Linked DNA regions of Homo sapiens: all the other regions are linked to region 7. Evidence: promoter capture Hi-C in 16 types of primary human blood cells and fetal thymus (Javierre and others, 2016). All regions are on one chromosome and are shown on one strand. Each heading gives the region's core, a stretch centred on a gene start or on the middle of the fragment in contact. The rest is flanking DNA. Distances are from core to core; before and after follow the strand shown.

Region 1 (3,788 bases), core at 1,129-3,628, 1.6 Mb before region 7:
CAGACTAGGTGCAGAGGATAAATTCCTACAGGGCTTATTTTCATTAATATGCACAGGAAATGAAGGTTGTATTTGGAGCTGAGAGGCAATACATTGATAACTAGCACCCAAATTTTATTCTTAATTCTTATAATACATTTTACAGGATATTGAAGTGCATATATATGGCATGATTTGACCAAACCTCAAGTTAGTGGCAGAATGAGACATAAATTGAGATATGGTTCCTTATTCTACATAATTTGCTGGTAGTAGGTAGCTGCAACTATTTTTTTTATTGTAAAGCCTAAAAATGAAAATAAAACATATATTAAAAATTCTGTATTACCTAATGTTATAATTTCATTTAATTTTACTATTAGTTATGCACTGGTATCTGATTAATCCTTTCACTGAAGATATACAGACAGAGGGTGAACAATTACTCGGAAGTGGTCTTGTAGAAAAAACTTAAACATTATTGTTATTTAAACTTTTTTTTTGAGACAGAGTCTCACTCTGCTGCCAAGGATGGAGTGCAGTGGTGTGATTTGGATTCAACACAACCTCCACCTCCTGGGTTAAAGCGATTCTCCTGCCTCAGCCTCCTGAGTAGCTGAAACTACAGGTGGGTGCTACCATGCCTGGATAATTTTTATATTTTTAGTAGAGACAAGGTTTCACCACGTTGGCCATGGTGGTCTCGAACTCCCAACCTCAGGTGATCTGCCCACCTCGGCTTCCCAAAGTGCTGGGATTACAAAGTGAGGCATGTGCCTGGCTTATTTAAACTTTTAACTGAATTTTCATGATTTGGCAATTGTTATACTCTTCAAAGCATGAAGGATCTAGTTTTTGCTCCTTTGTCAAAAGGTATATGATGGGTCACTAGGCATTAGACTGGTACCAGAATGGGAACAGGAATGTGTAGAAAGATAAAGTTATGAGAAAACTGGAAATATATAGCATCCAGGGACACAACCAGAATTGATATCCAAGGGCGACTGAAACTTCAATCTGGCAGGAAGGCAAAATCACACATAAGTCACCAAGACAGGTACCTGGCATGAAGATACTCAAGAAATTTTAGAGTGGTGAGTAGAAGATGGATGCAGCAGAGATTCCTGGGACACAATTCTAGAGTGTCTTTTGACTCATTCTAGAGTAAAGAAATTAATAAAGATGACTAGACAGTTTGGATAGAAAATTGTCAGTGAAACTGGTAATACTTGTTAAAACTTTCATAAGTGTTCCCCACTGAGCATGTACAGGTAGTCTTAGAGAGGATCATTAGGTAAACAGCCTTAATAAAGATGACTTATATGCATAGTGCACTTCACTGTTTATGTTAGTTTAACTTTTTTCCACGCAATTCTATTTCCTACTACTACTCATGTAATAAAAAAGATTAAAAGCTGTTATCAGAGATATCTCATTCTCCATTCCCATTTGTATCCCTGAATCTGTGTTCCTGAGACCACTATGCCTCAACCTCCAGCTCTACCTTCCACATCCAGCTCATTCCTGAATGATTTTATACTTTGACTTAGCATTAATAATTCCATCAACTGTCATAGATAAGCCAAACTTCACTTAACATATTATGCTTTTCTTGAACAGTTTGGATTTAGGAAGATATTAATCACAAATATTAGTAATTTTTTTCTTGGTATAATCCATTGTATGTGTTTTTTAATTTTTTTTCCCATAAGTTATTGGGGTGCAGGTGGTATTTGGTTACATGATAAGTTCTTTAGTGGAGTTTTGTGAGATCCTAGTGCACCAATCACCCGAGCAGTATATACTGCCTCATATTTGTTGTCATTTATCCCTCGACCCCCTCCCACTCTTCTCCCCAAGTCCCCAAAATCTATTGTATCATTCTTATGCCTTTGCATCCTCATAGCTTAGCTCCCACATATCAGTGAGAATATACAATGTTTGGTTTTCCATTCCTGAGTTACTTCACTTAGAATAATAAGACAAATATTAGTATCTGTACAATAAAAAATCAACTATGTATTATAAAATCATTATATCATACCATTTAATTTCTAATATTTCTTTGCTTTATTGAAGTAATACTGACTAACAAAAATTGCATATATTTAAGATATGCAATGTGATGTTTTGATATATGTATACACAGTAAAATGATTACCATAATCAAGCTAGTTGACATAGCTCTCACCTCACATAGGTACTATTTTTTTTTGTAAGATTTAAGATCTATTCTCTTAGTAAATTTCAAGTATACATTACATTATTATTATTCAGTATAATCACCAGGATGTTCATTTCATCTTCAGGACTTTATTCAGTTTGTTTAACTGAAATGTTGTACTTTTAGACCAACATCTCCCCATTATGCCCATTCCCCCAACCCCTGTCTACCACTTTTCTGCCTCTATGCCTTGCCTCCAGGTCTTGTTTCTGATGACAGGTCCTAGGATTACCTATGTGTGTAATATTTATTACTACATTGAGACTTGAACATCATTCAATGTATTCAAAACCTCATTAATCTTCTCTCTCTTCCTTCCATCCAGTGATCTAAGCCAGGGCCCAAGTTTCATCTGTGACTTCTCTCTCTCTAATCTTCATCCTATATCAAGTTCTTTTGTTTAGAATTCAAAAATATTCTTCGAAACCTTCTATATCTCTCCATGTTAATTTGATTTCTCTAGGCTCAGAGGATGATATGGGAATTTTAATAAACGTGATTTATAAGGGGAAAAGACTGAAGGAAACATACAATAGTAGGGGAAGGAAGGATGTGGTCTCAACTAATCTGTCTCTAGCCTGGAGCCCCGGGAGCTCTGAGGTATACATTGTACTACAGAACTGCTTCCACCTTGAGACAAAGGAACTAACCTCTTAAACCCTATTCCAGTCAATCATCGCTGGTGGGCTCCGGGAGAGGGAACAAAATACCCTAAGTGATGCAGCTCCCATTTTATCTGGTGCAATTGTCCAGAAAAGGGCAAGGCTGTGAGCTGTTGGCAGCCCACACCCACAGTAGCTGGGGCACTTGTGCACTGGCCTGGTGAAGGGGATTTGAGCTGGACACAATAGTGTCCACCACATTCTGCGTCCTTACTGGCAACACCAGGGCTGAGGCCTCCAGCCTTTCACACTGAAATAATTACAATAACCCCTAGGTGCTCTCCTGCTTCCAGTCTTGATCCATCAATCCATTGTACATACTGTAGTTAGGATTATCATTATAAAATTAAAATCTAACTGCATTACTCACTAGCTTAAATATACTTTCCCTGTTTCTCCCATAGTCATTAGTGTTAAGTCTTAACACAACTATAAGCACCTTCTTGATATTCTCTTTTCCTATCTCTCTAGCTTCATATCTTACAATTTACAAGACTTTATAAGCTCAGTGTCTCTCATGGTGGCTGGCACGCAAGTTGGGGGTTCAGTAAATAATTGCTGAATGAATGAGCAAATTAATAATCATGGCCATACTGCACTGACTAGGTTTCCTGCATACTCTTTTCACCTCCTGGCCTTTGTTATGTATTCTCTCTCCTACAAGCACTGCTCTCACCTTCATGCATATTCATTCTGCTGACTCCTTTTCTTTTCTTTTTTCTTTTCTTTTCTTTTCTTTTTTGAGACATAGTCTTGCACTGTCACCCAGGCTGGAGTGCAATGGCATGATCTCAGCTCACTTCAACCTCTGCCTCTCAGGTTCAAACAATTCTCCTGCCTCAGCCTCCCAAGTAGCTGGGATTACAGGTGCCTGCCCCCACGCTGAGCTAATTTTTGTATTTTTAGTAGAGATGGGGTTTCAC
Region 2 (3,945 bases), core at 1,335-3,834, 1.6 Mb before region 7:
TGGTCCAAATGACCTCAGTCCAACAGCAGAAGCAGTGGAACCTCTCCTCGAGGGATGTGAGAGCACCTGGCCTCCCCTCTCACTACCTGGCCCAGCAGCCAGTAGTGGCAGTGGCAGCCTCAGGACAGGACAGAGATCCATGGGGAATGGGCTCCCAGAATGGCACCATGCTGCAGCTGCCCAGTGCTTGGAAGCCTATGAGACTCCATGTAAGTTTGAGAAGCACCTCTGCACAATCTCCAGGCAGCTCTCTATGCCAGTCTGGAGGCTTATGGGGGTTGAGGGAATCTCCTGTATCTAGGATTGTAGAAGTCTGCAGCAGAAATGTGGAGCTCTGGGGTTCCTTCACTTACCCCTTCTTTGGGTCTGGGGCAGCTCTTGGCTCCTAGCAACCCCAAACAGGCAGCCCCATATCTCCTTCCTTCACCTTCTGTGTCTCCTGTTGCCTCTCTGTTGAATTCCAGTGCTCTTTCTCAGATGATCTATTTAAAGTGTGAATATCGACTCGATATTTTGGTTCCTCTCTGTGGAAGAGGTGCACCTCAGCCGAATCTAGTCAGTGATCTTGTAGTTGCATATTTTGTAATTGTAAATTTTTAATACCATGTAGCATCTCATAAATGTATTAGTTTTAATAGTTTATAAATTTTGATTTGCTACACCCACAAAATTATTGTATGCAAATAATGACAGTTTAAAATTTTTCCTAGTCATTTTTATCAATGGCACTTATTTCTTTTCTTTGCCTTATTGCACTGGTTAGATTCTCCAGCACAATGTGGAATATATGTAATTATAATGGATAGTTTTGCATTGTTCCTGACTCCCAGAGAAAGTTTTTAGTATTTTCTCATTAAGAACGATGTTGGCTGTAGGGTGTTTGTTAATAGGCTTTATCCTACTGAGGAAGTTCTATTCCTAGTTTTCTTAAACTTTTTAAAAATCATGAACATATGTTAAATCCTATCAAGTTTTTTCTCTATTTATTGAATTGATCATATTTTTTTCTACTTAATTTTGTTCATGCAGTGAATTATATGAATTGATTTTTTTTTTTTTTTTTGAGACAAGGTCTCACTCAGTTGCCCAGGCTGGAGGGCAGTGACACAATCACCAATCACTGCAGCCTTAACTTCCTGGGCTCAAGCGATCCTCCCACCTCAGCCTACCAAGTAGCTGGAACTATGGTGCATGCCGCCACACCCGGGTAATTAAAAATTTTTTGGTATAGATGGGGTTCTCAATATTTGCCCCAGCTGGTCTTGAACTCCTGAGATCAAGCGATCTGCCCACCTCAGCCTCCCAAAGTGCTGGGATTACAGGTGTGAGCCACTGCATGTGGCCATGAATTGATTTTGAATGTGAAATCAACATTTCATTCCTGGGACAAAACTTACTTGCTCGTGATACATTATTATTTTTATATATGGCTGTATTTTATTTGCTAAATATTGGGTTCAGAATTTTTGTGACTGTGTTAATGAGAGATATTTATCTGATATTTTTTCTTGTAATGCCCTTTTTCATTTTCTCTAATCCCTGAAAATGTTGATATAAAATTGGTAGTATTTTTTAAAAGTGATATGTAGAATTCACTGATAAAGCTACAGGGATATAATCTTGGTATTTTTGGGAGAAGTCAGGGGAAAATTTTTCAAGTGTGAATTTAGCACATGTATGTTATTCAGGTTTTGCTTGTGTGTGTGTGCGTGTGTGTGTGTGTGTGTTTAGAAAGTTGTGTTTTTCCAAAGAAATGATAAATGTCTGAGATAATGGATATGCTAATTACCCTGAATTAATCACTATACATTATATGTATCAAAATGTCACTATTTACCCCATAAATATGTACAATTATTATTTGTTAATAAAAATTAAAAGTTGCTTAGTACAAATGTTTTAAATTTGCATTTCTCCAGTTACTAATGAAGTTGAAATTTTTTCATACATTTATTGACCATTCATTCTTCTTTTGGAAATTGTTCTTTTCCTTTGCCCATTTTGTAGCTGAATGATTTGTAATTAACTTGTAAGACTCTTTGCATATGGAGGATGCATATATTTCCTTTATTCAATCGAAATATTGTTTTTACAGACATTTTTGAATGACAAAAAATAGAAAGCTGTGTTTTTCAAAGCAGAGGTCCATTTCTTTTAAACTGGCAAGGACATTAGCAAAATTCATTTGTAATGGCCTTTTATTATCTTGTTAATCTACAGCATAGCCTTTTCACTGCTGATTCTCATAATTTTTTTTCCTTATATTTTAAAACCAATTTTGCTAAGGACATGAGTTTTATTAATTTTTACACAAAATCAACCCTAGTCTTTATGTATTTTCTCTATTTTTAAATTAATTTTATTTCAAGTATATCTGTCTTCTACTTACTGTTCATATTATACCATGTTTTATGCATTTATTTTGCTCTACTATTTCTAGCTTCTGGAGATGAAAGCTTAGTTCATTTCCTTTAATCTTTTTTATTTTCTAGTACTTGCATTTAAAGCTATATATTTCTCTCTGAGCAATTCTTTAGCTGCATCTAGTATTTTTTTTTGTTTGTTTTTACCACCTTTAAGTTAAAATTCATTAAAAATTTTTCATTGGCACTTCTTTAATATATGAATAATTTAGAATTGTGTTGCTTGATTTGTAAATAATTGGGGGATGTTTAGTTATACTTTTGTTATAAATTTTTAGTTGAAGCTTACTATTATCAGATATGTGTTCTGTATGGTTTAGTCCTTTGAAATGTATTGCATCTTGTACTGTGGCCCAGTGTATTTTCTATTGTGGTGTACATTCCATGAGCACTTAGAGATAAGTAGAATAATCCTACATTTGTTTTCTCTTTCCCCACTCCCTTACTAATACACCTTCAGCTAACCTGACTGAAACTGTGTGATAAACTGATGACTTTTTAGGGAAGAACATTGCTTTATTTGCATTCAAATAAAGTTTTCTTGATTTGTTCTGAAGTTAACGTTTATCATCTTCTGGGAGTGAGTTCAGATGCCATCTGCAATGCCACAGATAAACCTTTCACAGTTGAGTTTAAACTTGAGTCTAGTTATAGGTCTAGAAGCAAAGAGGGATGATGAAGATGGGTCTTGAGGGAAATCAACATTGTTTTGCTGGGGAACTGCTTCAGGGAAGGACATATAATTTCCTCAGGCAATGCAAGGTTAAACCTTCAGTAGGGGTGAAGAGGTTTCTTCTGCTAAGGGTGAAGGAAAGGCTCTACTCGAGGTGGGGAGGCCTCTTCCGCTGGCAAAGTAGGCTTATCTTTTCTCTGTTCAATCTTCTGAGTATCCTCCTTCTGAAGCAGAAACATAGTTTCATCCATGACTCTTTTCTCTCTAATCTTCATCCTATATCAAGTTATTTTCCTTAAAATTCATTAATGTATCTTAAACTGTCTCTATTACTCTGTGTTAGTTTGGGTTTCTTAGATGCAGATCTGAGATTGAGAATTTTTACAAAAGTGATTTATAAGGAGAAGAGTTTGAGGGAAGCTAACTATGGTAGAGGGAAGAAAGGACATGATCTCAACTGGAGTCAGGCTTCAGATGTCAGGCTTCAGATGTGGTCTCAATTGAAGTCTGCCTTGAGTCTGGAGCCATTGAAGCTCTGGAGGATACATCGTATTATACAACAACCTTTTAAACTTTCGTGTCTGTTAGTCATTGGCCACTGCTGGGCCTTGACAGTGGGCATAATCTTCTGAGTGTGGCACCTCCCATTTTCTGTGGTGCAATTGTCCAGGGAAGGGTGGGGCTGTGAGCTGTTAGCAGCCCAGACACAGCAGGTGGGGCATGAGTTCACTTACCAGGCAAAAGGCATTTGAGCTGGATGCAACAGTGTCCCTAACACTCGGCATCTCTTGGGAGTCACCAAAGTTCAGACCCCCATTTATTCACACTTAAATCATTATAATTACCTCC
Region 3 (3,527 bases), core at 410-2,909, 1.7 Mb before region 7:
CCTCCTAGATTCAGGAGATCCTCCTGCCTTAGGCTCCCAATGTGCTGCAATTACAGGTGTGAGCCATTGTATTTGGCCCCATTTGTATTTTTGAAAGATGACTAGTGGTAGTGAAGATACCAGTGAGTTGAAGGGAGTGAAACTAGGGGCAATAACAGTTCAGATAACAGATATTTTTTGAGCCCCTGCTAAGTGCCAGGCACATATCTAGGTCCTGGGAACTAGGGGAGAATGAGTAACTCAGTCTCTATTCTCGGGGAGGTTCCATTCTTGTGGTGGTGTGGTGGTGGGGAAGCAGGCTATATACATGCAACAAATGATATTTTTTTCAGATGGTGATAAGTAATTTGAAGAAAATAAATAGAGCTATGGGAGTTAGAATGTTTGGGCATTGGAATGGGTACTGACCTATTGGGGTGGGCAGTGAAGACCTCTCTGACATTTGAGCTGAGGCAGCTTGAAGAAGATCTGGTCAAGATCTGGTCTGGTCCTGCTGGGTAGAATGTCAAGTGCAGCGACCTGAGATGTAAACAGACTTGACATAGTGTTTAAGCACCATAAAGCTGGTCAGGGTGGCTGGAGCATAGTGGAGCCTAGAGGAGCAAGTAATATTCAGATGAGGATGGAGCACCTTCTAGGCCATGGAAAGGAATCTGGATTAAATCCAATGGAGTAAGAAGCATTGCAATTAAATCAGGGGTTGGCAAACTACGGCCCATGGGTCTAATCTGTCCTGCTGCCTATTTTAATGAATAAACCATATTGGAACACAGTCTCACCCATGGGTTTACATATTGTCCAGGGCTGTTTTTAATGTTACAAGAGCAGAGTTGAGTAGTTTCAACAGAAACATATGACCCAGAAACCTAAAATATTCACTGTCTTGTTTTTATAGAAAAAGTTTACTGACCCCTGAATTAAATGATCTAATTTAAGTTTTGAGGAGGAGACACTCTGGGTATTGTTTAGGGAATGAATGGTAAGAGGCAAGAGTACAGCTGAATAGTTCAGATAAGAAATAACTAGATGTTGGCTTGGTACCATGGCTCATGCTTGTAATCCTAGCACTTTGGGAGGCTAAGGTTGGTGGATCACAAGGTCAGAAGTTTAAGACCAGCCTGGTCAACATGGTAAAATCCCATTTCTACTAAAAATAGAAAAATTAGCTGGGTGTGGTGGTGGGCACCTGTAATCCCAGCTACTTGCTGAGGCAGGAGAATTGCTTGAATCTGGAAGGCAAAAGTTGCAGTGAACTGAGATCACGCCACTGTACTCCAGCCTGGGCAACAGAGCAAGACTCCATCTCAGAAAAAAAAAAAAAAGAAAAAAGTAACTAGATGTTAAGCCACTAGAAAACAAAGATCACACTGTTTTTATTCTCTTTTAAAACACCTAGCTATGCTTTATACTCATTAAATATTGTTTATTGAGTGATGAGATGCTGAATAGGGGGTGCCAGTGAATATGAAGGGGAAGTGAGGTTTTAAGAGATATTTAGGAGGTAAAATATCAGGACAGCTTATTGCTGACACAGTGAATAGAAACAGGAGGTGGGCAGAAGGAGGACTGGAGGATGCCCTTCAGGTTTCTGGCTCAGGTATCTTGGTGCATGGCAGTGTAATTAACTGAGACAGGGAAAGTGGAGAAACAAAGAACATATGTTGTTGGGGAGAAGGAATTAATCTTTGGACATAGGATGCTCAGGACATCCAGGTAAAGATGTCTAAAAGATAGTTGGAAAGACAGAGCTCTATCTAGCATGATATCTAGATTTATGTTAACCAGAATTCTAGGGTCATCAGCTTGTGTGGGCTCTCCTAGAAAGGGTGTGTGAAAAGGAGGGCAGGGATAGATCTCATATGGCATTCGTTTCCAGTACATTTTGGATCTAGAGAGGAGGCAAAGATAAACTAGCTGTGTGGACAGTTTGCATCAGTCCGTCAGGTCATCCCATGACCATGGAATATTTTTTCTGCAGAAGCTGATGGGCTCAAATGAAGGCTTGCCTTACCTATTTCTCTGGCCGCCAACCTCTTTCTCTTAGTTGGGTTGACTGGGGCAGCTGTGGAGGCTTCTTCCCTCCTAGGCTCCCTGCTAACATTGGAACATTTGTGGCCTTTTAACTCTGTAGGTGATTCACGTTTGCATTTATCTTTTTATTTTTTAAGAGATAAGGTCTCATCCTGTTGTCTGGGCTGGAGTGCAATGGCACAATCATAGATCACTGCAGCCTCAACCTTCTAGGCTCCAGTGATCCTCCCACCTCAGCCTCCCAAGTAGGTGGGATTGCGGGTACATGCCACCAAGCCCAGCTAGTATTTTAATTTTTGTAGAGACGGTGTTTCCCTATGTTGCCCAGGCTACTCTCAAATTCCTGGGCTCAACAGATCTTATCTTGGCTTTCCAAAGTGCTGGGATTGCTGGGCATGGTGAGCCTGTAATACCAGCACTTTGGGAGGCTGAGACAGGCAGATCGCCTGAGCTCAGGAGCTCGACACCAGCCTGGACAACACAGTGAAACCTCTTCTCTACTAAAAATACAAAAAATGAGCCAGGCGTGGTGGCATACTCCTGTAGTCCCAGCTACTCAGGAGGTTAAGGCAGGTAAATCACTTGAACCCAGGAGGCAGAGGTTGCAGTGAGCCGGGATCACACCACTGCACTCCAGCCTGAGTGACAGAGGGAGACTCCAGCTCAAAAAAAACAAAAAACAAAAAAAAACTAACAAAGTGCTGGGATTACAGGCATGAGCCAACATGTTTGCATTTATCTAGTTGAGGCTACAGGGAGGTAGGAGGGCCTAGTTGTCCTTGGTGTTTTGTTACAGCAATAATTCTCAGATGCAAGGGCTAGACAATGGATTAATTTTATTAAGTAATGTTAAATATTAATAAATTTATCAAATCCATTAAGTATTGTTAAATATTAATAAATGTATTAAATGCTGTTAAATATTAATAAATTTATTAAATATTATTAAATTTACTAAGTATTATGGGTTCTTTTATGCCACAAAGCTAGATAAACCCCTTACTGGCCCTGAACAATAGCTTCCCCTTTCCTTTTTGTTTTTTTTTTTCCTTTTTGTATGGGGAAGGGGAACCACAGAAGTATTTAATAAAAAAGCACTTGTGGCCAGGCGCGGTGGCTCATGCCTGTAATCCTAGCATTTTGGGAGGCTAAGGCAGGTGGATCGCCTGAGGTCAGGAGTTTGAGACCAGCCTGGCTAACATGATGAAACCCAGTATCTACTAAAAATACAAAAAATTAGCCAGGCGTCATGGCAGGTGCCTGTAGTTCCAACTGCTCAGGAGGCTGAGGCAGGAGAATCACTTGAACCTGGGAGGCAGAGGTCGCATTGAGCCGAGATTGTACCGTTGCATTCCAGCCTGGGTGACAGAGTGAGACTCCATCTGAAAAATTAAACAAAAATAGCACTTGTGCTGAAAGTGGTCTTAAAATAGTTGTACCCAGGTGGGGCACAGTGGCTCTTGCTTATAATCCCAGCACTTTTGGAGGCCGAGGGA
Region 4 (3,926 bases), core at 402-2,901, 1.8 Mb before region 7:
TCGGGATATTTTCACTACAGTTAATCCTGTGGGAACAAATTCCAAACTCCAAACCACTCTATATGATGTGACCTTAGAATGAGTCAGGTTGATGGATTCCTCAGGTTGAACTCAGTTTAGGATGTCGACCCCACGTTTGGGAGCTTTGAAGGCAATGTGTGAATTGACTGATGTGAAAATTCTCAGCACAATTCCTAGTGCATTATAAGTGCTGAGCATTATGAATGCTCAGAAGTCCCTGAGAATTTGGCCAGTAGTTATGTCTACTGTTACTGTAAGTTCTTTAAATAAAGATATAAACAGTTAATATCTAAAGACAAGAGTCAGAAGATCATAGCTCACTGCAGCCTTGAACTCTTGGGCTCAAGTGGGCTTCCCACCTCAGCCTCCCAAAGTGCTGGGAATACAAGACTGCACCACTACACCCAGCCCAGAAGTGTTTTTAGAGAGGAGGGTATCTCTGCTTAGGGAATGACATTTATGATCTGGGGGGGGGTCTGTCCTGCAGACACTGACCCAATAATGGACGAATAAAATACACTGATACACAGATATTCTGCTTTGCCAGTTCTACTGAGCATCCATGCCACTTAGTTGTAACCACAGCCCTGACCAGCCAGTGAGACTCGCGTTTATTCAGTGAAGTTTAATTGACAAAGGCTCGAGTCAACACCACTAGAGGGTAATTGACATTGTGGACTTTCAGAGTAAAAAGCAATTAAGCACCCGCGGTAAATCAAAGGTTAGTCTTAGGACCACATGAGTAAACAAGTTAGTTAGATAAACTACTCTACATTCCTTTGTATTTGCACCCTAAGCTCTCTGGCTCCTGCAAAGGGACTCTGGCTGCCTTCAGCCAGATCTATTACCAAAGTTATGCAAACTCTCAGGCCTTCCAAGAGGGTTTGTGGTTATTATAACTAAAACTTTTCCCACCAGCCTGACTGAACCCCCACAATGAGCCACTCAGTGTAGAATGCAAGTTGAGGTTGGAAGGAGATGGTGCTAAAAAGATATGAGTAAGCTATTCTACAACAGAAAGAATACAAATTCAGAGGAGAACAGAGAAGAGAAAGAGGATCTGTCTTAGGAGATGTTCAATAATGAACTTTGAGAAGAAAGAAGTTAAAGATCCTATTTTTAATTGTTTGTATTTGAATATCCAGAAGTCTGCTACAAATACAAAGGTCTTGTGTTAGTGGGTTTGAGGGAAATCAAGGGGAAGAGATGGTTTCTGTGTCTGGATAATGGGAAGCAACATCATTTTGTACTGATAATATATCATGACAAGAGTAAATGACAAAGCTTTAAGCCAAAGGTGGCAAGGAAATGGAAGCCTGCCCATAATCTTCACAAGTCTTTGGGAGAGACAATGGGCTATCCACAATTAAGGGAATGAGGTTGCAAAACAATGTTAAAATCTAGAGTTTAAGGGGAAGGATCATTGATGTCACCATTGTCTGAGTTACAACAGCATCCCTTTGAGATTGGGTGAAGTTCAGAGAATTGAAGTGAGTTGCGTATGCTGACCTGGCTAGATAGTGTTAGAAGTGGGACTAGAATTTGTTCCTCTGACTCACCTCCACTTGGGGAAGTAAAAACCTCCTCTCCTCTTGGCCTTGCAGTGAACTGATCTATTGCTTTTTTCTGCTTTGATCCAACTAAGGTCAGCTCTGGTCAAGCTCAGTCTCAGAAAGCCATTTGCAAAGTTCAACTTAAAGTGCTCACATATGTGTCCCAGGAGACAGGAACAAGCATTGTCACAATCAATAGACAATGGTTGGTGTTATTTTATGTGTTGTGAGGTGATGACACCTGCAGAACTCTAACGTGAAAAGATAAGGCTATTTTGTGGAAGGAACTTCATTTATCAATAAGCAAAGTGTTTATACTTTCATAGACACTTTTGACCTCTTTGTCTGGTCGTCGTGGCTCATATCTGTAATCCCAGCACTTTGGGAGGCCTAGGCAGGTGGATCACCTGAAGCCAAGCTTTCAAGACCAGCCTGGCCAACATAGTGAAACTTTAACTCTACTAAAAATGCAAAAATTAGCCAGGTGTGGTGGCTCGTGCCTGTAATCCCAGCTACTTGGGAGGCTGAGACAGGAGAATTGGTTGAACCTGGGAGGTGGAGGTTGCAGTAAGCTGACATCATGCCATTGCACTACAGCCTGGGTAATAGAGTGAGACTCCATCTCAAAAAAAAAAAAAAAAAAAAAAGAAAAGAAAAGAAAAAAGAAAGTGGCTCTTGGAAATCTCCAAGATGAGCTTTTGTCTTGAGTAAATGTCCAATAAGCCTGCTCCAACTTGTACCCTTTTGATGAATCCTTTCTACTTGTTGCATGTCAGATGTTATTTTAGGACATCAGGGAATAGGAGCTGACATGGAGAGCTTCTTGAAAGCAGTCCAGACCAAAGCAGTTGTCTTTAGTTGGTATCTCCATGTCACTCCCACTTTCCTGCTTCTACCACCTTCCCTGGGTTTCTTTGTTCCTGACCTGTGGTTCACATTCAGGATTATTTCTTCCAGAACCTGCCCTTGCTTGGACAACTATATTATGGTTTCTGTTGTTCTTGATATGTTTGCAGATTTTTTGTTTTGACCTCTAATCAACACCTTGCAATTTTTGCAGGCTTTTAATACTTGGGATGTGGCTTTTTGCCTGACTGTGCCTCTGGAGTCATGACTACACCTCCCTTCCACTAAATGATTTTTGGGATGAATTTCTAAAATGTTTGATTTCCATCTGGTTTCCAGCCTCATATCATACCAGTACTCAAACAAGAATAATTATAATATAAAGCATTTGTTGGCCACGTGAAATAGTTTTGCTGTGTCCCCACCTAAATCTCATCTTGAATTGTAGCTCCCATAATTCCCACATGTTGTGGGAGGGGCCTGGTGGAGATAATTGAATCATGGGTTGGCTTCCCCCATACTGTTCTTGTGGTAGTGAATAAGTGTCATGAGATCTGATGGTTTTATAAGGGGTTTCCCCTTTTGTTTGGCTCTCATTCTCTCTTGTATGCCACCATGTAAGACATGCCTTTGGCCTTGCACCATGATTGTAAGGCTTCCCCAGACACATGGAACTGTGACTCTAATAAACCTCTTTTTCTTTATAAAGTACCCAGTCTCGGGTGTGTCTTTATCAGCAGCATGAAAACAGAGTAATACACTATGCACTGTTTACCATCAGAAGTACAAAATTCAACTGTCTGATCACTTCCATGACAGGAGCTTGGGTAGGTTTATCATATAGAGTGGATTGGAGTTAGGAATTTGTTCCCAGAGGATTAATTATAGTAAAATCCCCTGATTGCATACAAGGAAGAAAAGGAGACAGAGGAAGAGGAGGAGATCTAGTGTGAATCTTACCTAATTTCTTGCAGAGTCATTTGAGTAAAGTTAGGGATATGAAACACTAAAGGTTAATTTAGGTTTAAGGGACATGAAGAGAAGTATAAACAGAGGAAGATGCCAAGCATGAGGCGTCAGAACAGGAACATGTTAGGCACAGGGTAAGAGGATCTGTTTGGAAGATGCCTGTGGAAACTTGGCTCATTGGTAACTGGCTGGTAAAAGGGTCTCAAGGCTCTCAAGTGATTCTCCTGCCTCAGCCTCCTGAGTAGCTGGGATTACAGGCACCTGCCACCATGCCCAGCTAATTTTTGTATTTTTAGTAGAGATGGGGTTTCACCATGTTGGCCAGGCTGGTCTCGAACCTCACCTCAGGTGACCCACCTTCCTCAGCCTCCCAAAGTGCTGAGATTACAGGCATGAGCCACTGGCCTCTACACTTCTCTTTACTAGAGCAAAGGAGTATTTCTATTTCTGTTACCCACTAGGTCAGAGAAGACAGAAATTACTTTTAATATTCTTTTGCTGCTTGAAGAATTAACTCAATCATATGCCCTGGCCAAT
Region 5 (3,711 bases), core at 838-3,337, 1.7 Mb before region 7:
GAGATGCTTTGTAGGCACCTTAGTATGGAGGGAATCCTGATTCCAATGTCCTGGTTTCTTTTAGAAACAGGACCTTGCTGTGTCACTCAGGATGGAGTTCAGTGGTCCTATCATGGCTCATTGTAGCCTCAAACTCCCAGGCTCAAGTGATCCTACCACTTCAACCTTCCCAATAGCTGGGACTACAGGTAAGCACCGTGACACTCAGTGAATTTTTCTTTTTTTTTTTTTTTGGTAGACATGGGGCCTCACTATATTGTCAGGGCTGGCCTTGAACTCCTGCACTCAGGGGAATTTCCTGCCTTGGCCTCCAAAAGTGTTGGTATTACAGGCATGAGCCATTGTACCCGCCGTCTCTGGTTCTTAACCTTCTGCCTCCCTCTTCCACATTTAAAGAAAGCTTGATATTACATGGGCTCTTCCAGATACTCCAGGATAATCTTGTTTTAAGATCAGCTGATTAGCAACATTAATTCCTTCTGTACTCTTAATTCCCCCTTCCTATGTAATTGTGCTGTGTAACATAGGACATGAGCAATTGGTGGGGGGTGGGGGGTGGGGTCATTACTTTGGCCACCACAGTAACTGTTTTGTGCCAGGTACTGAGCTAAGAACTGTTGAATTAAACATGAATAACCCATAATCCCTAATCTCCATCCATTCATGGGAGGAGCACCTCACCTCTCATGCTCCTGAGAATCTGGAGAGTCAAGGAAGGCTTCCAGGAGGGGGTGATGCCAAAGCAGACAAGTGACAGAGGACCCAAAGCTATCCAGGAAGAGAGTAGAGGTTTAAGGGGAAGTGTATTCTAAGCAGAGGGTATCACTCACTTCAGAGACTCCCAGAGGAGAAAGAGTGTGGATTTCATAAGAGCAGGATTCAGCTCATTATGAGAATCTAATGCCTGATTCATGGGGCACATGAGGCTCAGTTGGACTCCACAGCAGGTAAAATGGAGAGGGGCAAGCAGTGAGGCTGCCTTGCAAGGCAGGGCAGAACAGGGGCTGTTAAGAAGTTTGGATTTAATCCCCAAGACAAGGAGAAGTGATGTAAACTTTGGAGTAACGTGATGAGATTAATGGATTAGAGACATGGCTCAGGCTGCTGTGTGGAGAAGGCACCAGGGGGAGCAGATGGCTCAGTGGGTGTGCTGGGACCTAAAGCAGGGGACACACTGAGTTTAGGGAGAGGTTTTTAAAATAGAAGAAGTTTGAGTAATTTAAATGATAGTGGGAAGGGGCTAAAAGCAGGGGATAGTTTAAAGATACAGGGAAGTGGGAGGAAGAACTGACAAGTGAGGTTCCAGAGAGGGGAGGAGAAGAGGAGATCCCCATAGGGGGATTAGCACTTTCTTTTCTTTTCTTTTTCTTTCTAAGACAGGGTCTCTGTCACCCAAGCTGGAGTGCAGTGGCATGATTTTGGCTCACTGTAGCCTAGACTTCCCAGACTCAAGGGATCCTTCCACCCTAGATGCCCAAGTAGCTGGAACTACAGATGTGCACCACCACCACACCTGGCTAAATTTTTTTTCTTTTTTTGGTAGACACAGGGTCTCACTATGTTGCTCAGACTGGTCTCCAACTCCTGGCCTCAAGCGATCCTCCTGCCTAGGCTTCCCAAATTGCTGGGATTACAGGCATGAGACACCATGCCTGGCCTCTGCTAGTTCTGTATTCTCTAGAGTTGTCTTTACTTTGTGCTAGTGTGTCCCTCATTATGCTGATCCTCTGTTAAAATTAATACTTTTTTTTGAGATGGAGTTTCACTCGTTGCCCAGGCTGAAGTGCAATCGCACGATCTTGGCTCACCGCAACCTCCACCTGCTGGGTTCAAGCGATTCTCCTGCCTCAGCCACCCGAGTAGCTGGGATTACAGGTATGTGCCATCACGCCCAGCTAATTTTGTGTTTTTAGTAGAGACGTGGTTTCTCCATGTTGGTCAGGCTGGTCTCGAACTCCTGACCTCAGGTGATCCACCCACCTCTACTTCCCAAAGCGCTGGGATTACAGACATGAGCCACCGCACCTGGCCAAAATTAATACTTTTTATATTAAATTTACATATATATTTTTTCTTTCTTTTTTCTTTTTTTTTATTTTTGGATACCAGGTCTCATGCTGTCAGCCAGGCTGGAGTGCAGTGGCACAATCTCTGCTCACTGCAACCTCCACCTGCCAGGCTCAAGAAGTTCTCCTGCCTCAGCCTCCCGAGTAGGTGGGACTATAGATATGTACCACCACACCTGGCTAATTTTTGTGTTTTTTTGTAGAAATGGGGTTTCACCATGTTTCCCAAGCTGGTCTCAAACTCCTGAGCTCAAAGTGATCCACCCGCGTTGGCCTCCCAAAGTGCTGGGATGACAAGTGTGAGCCACTTTGCTCATTCTAGTTTAAACTTTTGAGTGGTTTGTGTCTCCTGATTGGACTCCTACAAATACAGAATTTATGCTAGGAAGGGTCCCAGGAGATAGACCCACACAGATGGAATTTGGGCATAGGTTCGGTTATCCAAGGAGCAGTGCTAAGCTCCTTGTCAATGGGACATGGGATGCTGGTAATTTCCAGGAAGTGACCTCACAATGACTCAAGCTATCACTTACTGTTGATTGTGATGAAATGCCAGGTGAGGCATAAGCCCTGTGAGCTTAGAGTTGCTACACTTGACCACTGTGGCAGTCAAGATGACTCTGAAGAATGGCATGGGATGGATCCTTTTGAATGCACTTGAGCAGGGAACTCCAACCACAGGGTCACAGAGCCGGAGGTGAGCAACAGGTGAATGAGGGGAAACTTCTTCTGTATTTCTAGCCCTCCCATCACTTGCATGACCACCTAAGCACCATGTCCTGTCAGATCAGCAGCAGCATTAGATTCTCCTAGGAGCATGAACCCTGTTATGTGCATGTGAGGGATCTAGGTTTCACTCTCCTTATGAGAATCTAATGCCTGATGATCTGTCACTGTCTCCCATCACCCTAGATGGACAGTCTAGCTGCAGGAAAACAAGCTCAGAGATCCCACTGAGTCTGCATTATAGTGAGTTGTAGAATTATTTCATTATATATTACAGTGTAGTAATAATAGAAATAAAGTACACAATATATGTAATGTACTTGAATCGTCCTGAAATCATTTCCTTCACCCCCAGTCTGTGGAAAAATTGTCTTCCACACAGTCACTCAGTTTTTTTTTTTTTTTTGGTAGAGACAGGGCCTTAATATGTTGCCCAGGCTGATCTCAAACTGCTAGCATCGAGTAATATATCCCTCTCAGCCTCCCAAAGTGTTGAGATTATAGGCATAAGCCACCATGCTCAACCAAGACTGAATTTTTTAAACCAAATAAAAATTAAGTGAGATTACCTGAGCCCAGGTGGTTGACGCTGCAGTGAGCCCTGATTGCACCACTGCACTCCAGCCTAGGTGACAGAATGAGACTCTGTCTCAAAAAATTAAAATAAAATAAAATAAAATACAAATTAATCCTTTATGACATTCCCAGTAACTTTCCCTCCTAAGTGTTCCCCCAAGCCTTTTAATTTTGTTAAATTTTCACATACCATTTAAAACGTTTAAGAACGTATGTCTGTCTGTGTCATCCCTCTATTTCAAAAGAATGTCTTTTTGTCACTCTCAGCTGGATCTACCATGAAAGACTTCAGAGTCCAGGAAGAGAGACTGACTGGGCAACATGTTATTCAGGTACAAAAAGG
Region 6 (3,442 bases), core at 803-3,302, 1.6 Mb before region 7:
TCAGCCTTCTAAGTAGCTGGAATTACAGGTGCACACTACCATGCCCAGCTAATTTTTGTATCTTAGTAAAGATGGGGTTTTGCCATGTTAGCCAGGCTGGTCTCAGACTACTGACTGTAAGTGATCTGCCTGCCTTGGCCCCCCACAGTGCTGGGATTACAAGTGTGAGCCACCATGCCAGGTCTTATCTTTTCTTTCTTTTTTTTTTTTTTCTTTTCTTCATTAATTTCTTTTCATTATATTTTAAGTTTTAGGGTACATGTGCACAACATGCAGGTTTGTTACATACGTATACAAGTGCCATGTTGGTGTACTGCACCCATTAACTCATCATTTAACATTAGGTATATCTCCTAATGCTATCCCTCCCCCCTCTACCCACCCCACAACAGACCCCAGTGTGTGATGTTCCCCTTCCTGTGTCCATGTGTTCTCATTGTTCAATTCCCACCTATGAGTGAGAACATGTGGTGTTTGGTTTTTTGTCCTTGTGATAGTTTGCTGAGAATGATGGTTTCCAGCTTCATCCATGTCCCTACAAAGGACATGACAATGGGGTTTTCTAGATATACAATCATGTCATCTGCAAACAGGGATAATTTGACTTCCTCTTTTCCTAATTGAGTACCTTTTCCTGCCTGGTTGCCCTGGCCAGAAATTCCAACACTATGTTGAATACGAGTGCTAAGAGAGAGCATCCCTGTCTTGTGTTAGTTTTCAAAGGGAATGCTTCCAGTTTTTGCCCATTCAGTATGATATTGGCTGTGGGTTTGTCATAGATAGCTCTTATTATTTTGAGATACGTCCCATCAATACCTAATTTATTGAGAATTTTTAGCATGAAAGGTTGTTGAATTTTGTCAAAGGCCTTTTCTGCATCTATTGAGATAATCATATGGTTTTTGTCGTTGGTTCTGTTTATATGCTGGATTACGTTTATTGATTTGGGTATGTTGAGCCAGCCTTGCATCCCAGGGATGAAGCCCACTTGATCATGATGGATAAGCATTTTGATGTGCTGCTGGATTCGGTTTGCCAGCATTTTATTGAGGATTTCTGCATCGATATTCATCAGGGATATTGGTCTAAAATTCTCTTTCTTTGTTGTGTCTCTGCCAGGCTTTGGTATCAGGATGATGCTGGCCTCATAAAATGAGTTAGGGAGGATTCCCTCTTTTTCTATTGATTGGAATAGTTTCAGAAGGAATGGTACCAGCTCCCCCTTGTACCTCTGGTAGAATTCGGCTGTGAATTCATCCGGTCCTGGACTTTTTTTGGTTGGTAAGCTATTAATTATTGCCTCAATTTGAGAGCCTGTTATTGGTCTATTCAGAGATTCCACTTCTTCCTGGTTTAGTCTTGGGAGGATGTATGTGTCAAGGAATTTATCCACTTCTTCTAGATTTTCTAGTTTATTTGCATAGAGGTAGAGGTGTTTTATAGTATTCTCTCATGGTAGTTTGTATTTCTGTAGGATCGGTGGTGATATCCCCTTTATCATTTTTTATTGCATCTATTTTATTCTCTCTTTTCTTCTTTATTAGTCTTTCCAGTGATCAATCAATTTTGTTGATCTTTCCAAAAAACCAGCTCCTGGATTCATTGATTTTTTGAGGGTTTTTTGTGTCTCTATCTCCTTCAGTTCTGCTCTGATCTTAGTTATTTCTTGCCTTCTGCTAGCATTTGAATGTGTTTGCTCTTGCTTCTCTTGTTCTTTTAATTGTGACATTAGGGTGTCAATTTTAGATCTTTCCTACTTTCTCTTGTGGGCATTTAGTGCTATAAATTTCCCTCTACACACTGTTTTGAATGTGTCCCAGAGATTCTGGTGTGCTGTGTCGTTGTTCTCATTGGTTTCAAAGAACATCTTTATTTCTGCCTTCATTTCGTTATGTACCCAGTAGTCATTCAGGGGCAGGTTGTTCAGTTTCCATGTAGTTGAGCAGTTTTGAGTGAGTTTCTTAATCCTGAGTTCTAGTTTGATTGTACTGTGGTCTGAGAGACAGTTTGTTATAATTTCTGTTCTTTTACATTTGCTGAGGAGTGCTTTACTTCCAACCATGTGGTCAATTTCGGTATAGGTGTGGTGTGGTGCTGAAAAGAATGTATATTCTGTTGATTTGGGGTGGAGAGTTCTGTAGATGTCTATTAGGTCCGCTTGATGCAGAGCAGAGTTCAATTCCTGGATATCCTTGTTAACTTTCTGTCTCATTGATCTGTCTAATGTTGACAGTGGGGTGTTAAAGTCTCCCATTATTATTGTGTGGGAGTCTGAGTCTCTTTGTAGGTCTCCAAGGACTTGCTTTATGAATCTGGGTGCTCCTGTATTGGGTGCATATCTATTTAGGATAGTTAGTTCTTCTTGTTGAATTGATCCCTTTACCATTATGTAATGGCCTTCTTTGTTTCTCTTGATCTTTGTTGGTTTAAAGTCTGTTTTATCAGAGACTAGGATTGCAACCCCTGCCTTTTTTTGTTTTCCATTTGCTTGGTAGATCTTCCTCCATCCCTTTATTTTGAGCCTGTGTGTTTCTCTGAATGTGAGACGGGTTTCCTGAATACAGCACACTGATGGGTCTTGACTCTTTATCCAATTTGCCAGTCTGTGTCTTTTAATTGGAGCATTTAGCCCATTTACATTCAAGGTTAATATTTTTATGTGTGGATTTGATCCTGTCATTATGATGTTAGCTGGTTATTTTGCTCGTTAGTTGATGCAGTTTCTTCCTAGCCTTGATGGTCTTTACAATTTGGCATGTTTTTGCAGTGGCTGGTACCAGTTGTTCCTTTCCATGTTTAATGCTTCCTTCAGGAGCTTTTTTAGGGCAGGCCTGATGGTAACAAAATCTCTCAGCATTTGCTTGTCTGTAAAGGATTTTATTTCTCCTTCACTTATGAAACTTAGTTTCGCTGGATATGAAATTCAGGGTTGAAAATTCTTTTCCTTAAGAATGTTGAATATTGGCCCCCACTCTCTTCTGGCTTGTAGGGTTTCTGCTGAGAGATCCGCTGTTAGTCTGATGGGCTTCCCTTTGTGGGTAACCTGACCTTTCTCTCTGGCTGCCCTTAACATTTTTTCCTTCATTTCAACTTTGGTGAATCTGACAATTATGTGTCTTGGAGTTGCTCTTCTCGAGGAGTATCTTTGTGGAGTTCTCTGTATTCCCTGAATCTGAATGTTGGTCTGCCTTGCTAGATTGGGGAAGTTCTCCTGGATAATATCCTGCAGAGTGTTTTCCAACTTGGTTCCATTCTCCTCATCACTTTTAGGTACACCAATCAGACGGAGATTTGGTCTTTTCATATACTCCCATATTTCTTGGAGGCTTTGTTTATTTCTTTTTATTATTTTTTCTCTTAAGTTCTCTTCTCACTTCATTTCATCCATTTGACCTTCCATCACGTTACTCTTTCTTCCAGTTGATCGAATCATCTACTGAGG
Region 7 (3,819 bases), core at 506-3,005:
AATAGTGTGAGTAAACATTTTAATTTGTTAACTGCTTTTATAATAACAGTTGTCATACTTGTTGCAATTATTTTTCCAAGGTGTTCCATACCTTTATGTAGCTGAGCTCATCAGTTTTGTTTTGTATCTTATACCATTATATTTTTATTTTAAAATATCCTTTCTTAGCTACAGATGAAATATATATTGATTTTTTTTTTGGTTTTGAAAAGATCTATGTTTTACCTGAAGTCTTTAATACATGCTATTCTTTTTTCTCTTTTTCTTTGGTTCTTTTTTTTCTTTTTTTGATGATTCCATTAAGAAGAGACTTATTTCGTTTTGAAAAACACCTATCTAGTTATTTTAAAATCTTTTATGAGCTACACATAATACCTTTCTAAATATTATTCACAAATAATATCCTTTGGTGGTATTACCATATTTGTTTCTTATTGAGCTCATTTCTATTCTTCAGTTTTCTTTGTATTTTTAAAATATCAAAAAGCTTTTTAATTTAGTTATCAAGTCTAATTTTTTATTGCCTGATGTCTTTCTGTGTTACACCTTTTTTTCTGAATATAATTGCTTGTTATTTACCTTGAGTTGAGTACTGAGTTCATTTATTTTCTCTCTTAATATTACAATGATAAATAACTTAAAGATAAAAATAATTATATGCAAAATTTTGTTTACTTGTGTTCTTTATCAAGATGTGGAGTACATGGTAAGCTATAGGTTTACCTTTAGGATACAAAGCTTGATATATTTAATCATGATATTCTTTAGTTCCTCCATTCCATTTGTTATTTTTCCCATTTTATATATGAAAAAGTTTAGGCACAATGAGACTAAGATCTGTACACAATATCATGTGGCTAATAGTCAGTGAAGATAAAATGTAAAAATTAGGCATCTGATTCTAAAAAACACTCTGTCCAATAAATTATGGTGCTTTTTTTCCCTCACCTTAAAATTATGTTTTCTAAACAGATCCATATAATTTTTCATAGTCATCCTTAAATTGGGTTTTGATTTGCAAAATGCCCTGAATTCTAAACATGACAGTTCTCCAAGTGAATTCTAAAGTTTCAGATACATCTGGGGAATGCTGCCTTGCATCATGCTGTTTTATCCTCTTCCAGGATATGCTTCCAGAAGTGTTTGATTGTATTCTTAGACAATTCTGTTTGGATGTGGCATAAATTCTCAAATCTAACTGCCATGGAGTATCTTACTGCAGCCTCAAACATTCACTCAGTTCAGTTGATTCTGAAATGTGGTGGCATCATCCTTAATTTCAAAGTGAACTCACCTGATGTTTTATAGTTACCCTGAAACAAGTTAAAAATAACCAGAATAACAAACTCTGCACCGTAGCCTCATGAACATGAGTGGTTAAAAAAAAAAAAAAAACGAAAAAAAAAAGAAACTAGGAAATTGACAGGAATTCAAGCCTCTGCTCCTCCTCTTTTTACTGCTGTTTTTCTATGGGGAAAAAAATGCTGTAAGGGTGATTGAGAGAATATCCATCCATGTACAATCATAGGAAAAATGCCTGACATGTCAACATCATAAAATCATGTTTGTGTACATAAATGAATGTGTGTATGTGTTTTTCTGTGTCTGTGTGTGTCTCTGTATGAGAGAGAAGAGGTATCTGTGTTCATTATGTCATGAATAACATAGCTCAACTTAGTCTTGGGTTTATAGATTTAGGGATTCCATCAGTGTTACAGAAAATAATCCTGACCAAAATTATTTTATTGTTCAAAATGTATGTGTCAAATTGCAATCCTTGTGCTATTCACAGAAAAATCAATTATCCAAATACCAAACTGGATTTCGAGCAAGTGAACAACATAACGGAATTCATCTTGCTTGGCCTGACACAGAACGCAGAGGCACAGAAACTCTTGTTTGCTGTGTTTACACTCATCTACTTTCTCACCATGGTAGACAACCTAATCATTGTGGTGACAATCACCACCAGCCCAGCCCTGGACTCCCCCGTGTATTTTTTTCTGTCTTTCTTTTCCTTCATAGATGGCTGCTCCTCTTCTACCATGGCCCCCAAAATGATATTTGACTTACTCACTGAAAAGAAAACTATTTCCTTCAGTGGGTGCATGACCCAGCTCTTTGTAGAACATTTCTTTGGGGGAGTTGAGATCATTCTGCTCGTGGTGATGGCCTATGACTGCTATGTGGCCATCTGCAAGCCCCTGTACTACCTGATCACAATGAACAGGCAGGTATGTGGCCTCCTGGTGGCCATGGCATGGGTCGGGGGATTTCTTCACGCTCTGATTCAAATGCTTTTAATAGTCTGGCTGCCCTTCTGTGGCCCCAATGTCATTGACCATTTCATCTGTGACCTTTTCCCTCTGCTAAAACTCTCCTGCACTGACACTCACGTCTTTGGACTCTTTGTTGCCGCCAACAGTGGGCTGATGTGTATGCTCATTTTTTCTATTCTTATTACCTCTTACGTCCTAATCCTCTGCTCACAGCGGAAGGCTCTCTCTACCTGCGCCTTCCATATCACTGTAGTCGTCCTATTCTTTGTTCCCTGTATATTGGTGTACCTTCGACCCATGATCACCTTCCCTATTGATAAAGCTGTGTCTGTGTTTTATACTGTGGTAACACCCATGTTAAACCCTTTAATCTACACCCTCAGAAACACAGAGGTGAAAAATGCCATGAAGCAGCTCTGGAGCCAAATAATCTGGGGTAACAATTTGTGTGATTAGAGAAGATAAACACAGAACCTACTCATATTTTAACAACAGGTATGACTAATGAAAAGGGTAAAGGTCTTGAGGTCAGAATAGTGAGTTTAAGTATATTTTATTCCCCTCATTTTCTGGAATCTTTAATGATGCCTTTTCATAAAAGATCAATATCTGATTAAATGATGACTAATGTTTCTGCCAATTTGAAACTTCTTCACATTTACAAATTATTAATCAGGGGGACATTGCTAGTCAACATAAAAATGTTACAGTGTATGGAAAACCCATGAGTTTATGTGTTTAGTAGAATAATTATCTGCAAAGCTTCGGTATAGAGTATATAACTAACAGGCCAAATAATTAAAATAAACAAAAAGACCTAATGGCTAAATCTTTTGTTGAAAATGCATAGTTTTAATCCCAACTAATAAAATCGAAGTAGAACTATTATTGTGAGAGAGAGAGATAGGTGAGAAACGATTGGGTTTTGAGGAATGAGAGTCGTTAAAGCAGCACTCATCCAAAATTAATGCTGTTGTGTTCACAACTCCAGGGGTGATCATTTACAGTATAATCTGGCTGTCTCCAGAATAAATTATTTTCTCTGTCTACAGCCAAAGAGGTGTAGAAAATTCATCCAGGTACAATCATAGAACAATCTTGGACATTATTTCTCAGGTAGAAGATATTTTGTGAAGCACTTTTTTTCTGTCGAAAATATCCTATACACCACTTCACCTCAAAAATGGCTTTTATTGGATGGATTTGTGCCTTAGCTAATAGAAACAAAGTAGCTGACCCAAAAGAGAATTGGTGGCTGGGTGTGGTGGCTCATGCCTGTAATGCCAACACTTTGGGAGGCAGAGGCAGGCAGATCACTAGAGGCCAGGAGTTTGAGGCCAGCCTGGCAAACATGGTAATATCCCATCTCTACTAAAAATAGAAAAATTAGCTGGGCGTGGTGGCCATGCCTGTAATCCCAGCTACTCTGGAGGCTGAGGCACGAAAATCACTTGAACCCGGGGAGCAGAGGATGCGGTGAACCAAGATTGTGCCACTACACTCCAGGCTGGGCAACACAGTGAGACTCCATCTCAAAAAA

Evidence for each region. The method cuts DNA at HindIII sites, captures the fragments that hold promoters and counts their contacts. A CHiCAGO score of 5 or more calls a contact.
Region 1: a contact is called between a fragment that was not itself captured here and the fragment with the promoter of OR4C5 in region 7, in 11 of 17 cell types (fetal thymus, total CD4 T cells, total CD8 T cells and 8 more). The highest score is 18.6, in fetal thymus.
Region 2: a contact is called between a fragment that was not itself captured here and the fragment with the promoter of OR4C5 in region 7, in 2 of 17 cell types (fetal thymus and M1 macrophages). The highest score is 5.5, in fetal thymus.
Region 3: a contact is called between a fragment that was not itself captured here and the fragment with the promoter of OR4C5 in region 7, in 5 of 17 cell types (M0 macrophages, naive CD8 T cells, erythroblasts and 2 more). The highest score is 7.9, in M0 macrophages.
Region 4: a contact is called between a fragment that was not itself captured here and the fragment with the promoter of OR4C5 in region 7, in 4 of 17 cell types (M0 macrophages, endothelial precursors, erythroblasts and 1 more). The highest score is 7.3, in M0 macrophages.
Region 5: a fragment that was not itself captured here is called in contact with the fragment with the promoter of OR4C5 in region 7 in 9 of 17 cell types (endothelial precursors, total B cells, M2 macrophages and 6 more); the score reaches 11.0 in endothelial precursors.
Region 6: a contact is called between a fragment that was not itself captured here and the fragment with the promoter of OR4C5 in region 7, in 17 of 17 cell types (monocytes, naive B cells, total CD4 T cells and 14 more). The highest score is 51.6, in monocytes.

What each region holds. Positions count from the first base shown.
Region 1 is chr11:49,976,575-49,980,362 of GRCh38, reverse strand. No RefSeq gene overlaps it. Among named protein-coding and RNA genes, the nearest start is that of OR4C12, 4.1 kb to the left of the region's middle. The HindIII fragment of the contact is 6,886 bases long and covers 1-3,788 here.
Region 2 is chr11:49,956,016-49,959,960 of GRCh38, reverse strand. No RefSeq gene overlaps it. Among named protein-coding and RNA genes, the nearest start is that of OR4C13, 5.6 kb to the right of the region's middle. The HindIII fragment of the contact is 251 bases long and covers 2,459-2,709 here.
Region 3 is chr11:50,106,340-50,109,866 of GRCh38, reverse strand. No RefSeq gene overlaps it. Among named protein-coding and RNA genes, the nearest start is that of OR4C12, 130 kb to the right of the region's middle. The HindIII fragment of the contact is 7,100 bases long and covers 1-3,527 here.
Region 4 is chr11:50,211,295-50,215,220 of GRCh38, reverse strand. No RefSeq gene overlaps it. Among named protein-coding and RNA genes, the nearest start is that of LINC02750, 85 kb to the left of the region's middle. The HindIII fragment of the contact is 687 bases long and covers 1,308-1,994 here.
Region 5 is chr11:50,087,349-50,091,059 of GRCh38, reverse strand. It overlaps LOC101060224 (a long non-coding RNA gene), which reads left to right and starts at 2,583. Exons shown (of 3, transcript XR_931262.2): 1 at 2,583-2,774; 2 at 3,636-3,700. The HindIII fragment of the contact is 3,370 bases long and covers 403-3,711 here.
Region 6 is chr11:50,006,303-50,009,744 of GRCh38, reverse strand. No RefSeq gene overlaps it. Among named protein-coding and RNA genes, the nearest start is that of OR4C12, 25 kb to the right of the region's middle. The HindIII fragment of the contact is 5,877 bases long and covers 1-3,442 here.
Region 7 is chr11:48,364,401-48,368,219 of GRCh38, reverse strand. OR4C5 (olfactory receptor family 4 subfamily C member 5) reads left to right here and starts at 1,755. Exons shown (of 1, transcript NM_001348223.2): 1 at 1,755-2,735. The coding sequence starts at 1,755. The coding sequence ends at 2,735. The HindIII fragment of the contact is 2,303 bases long and covers 741-3,043 here.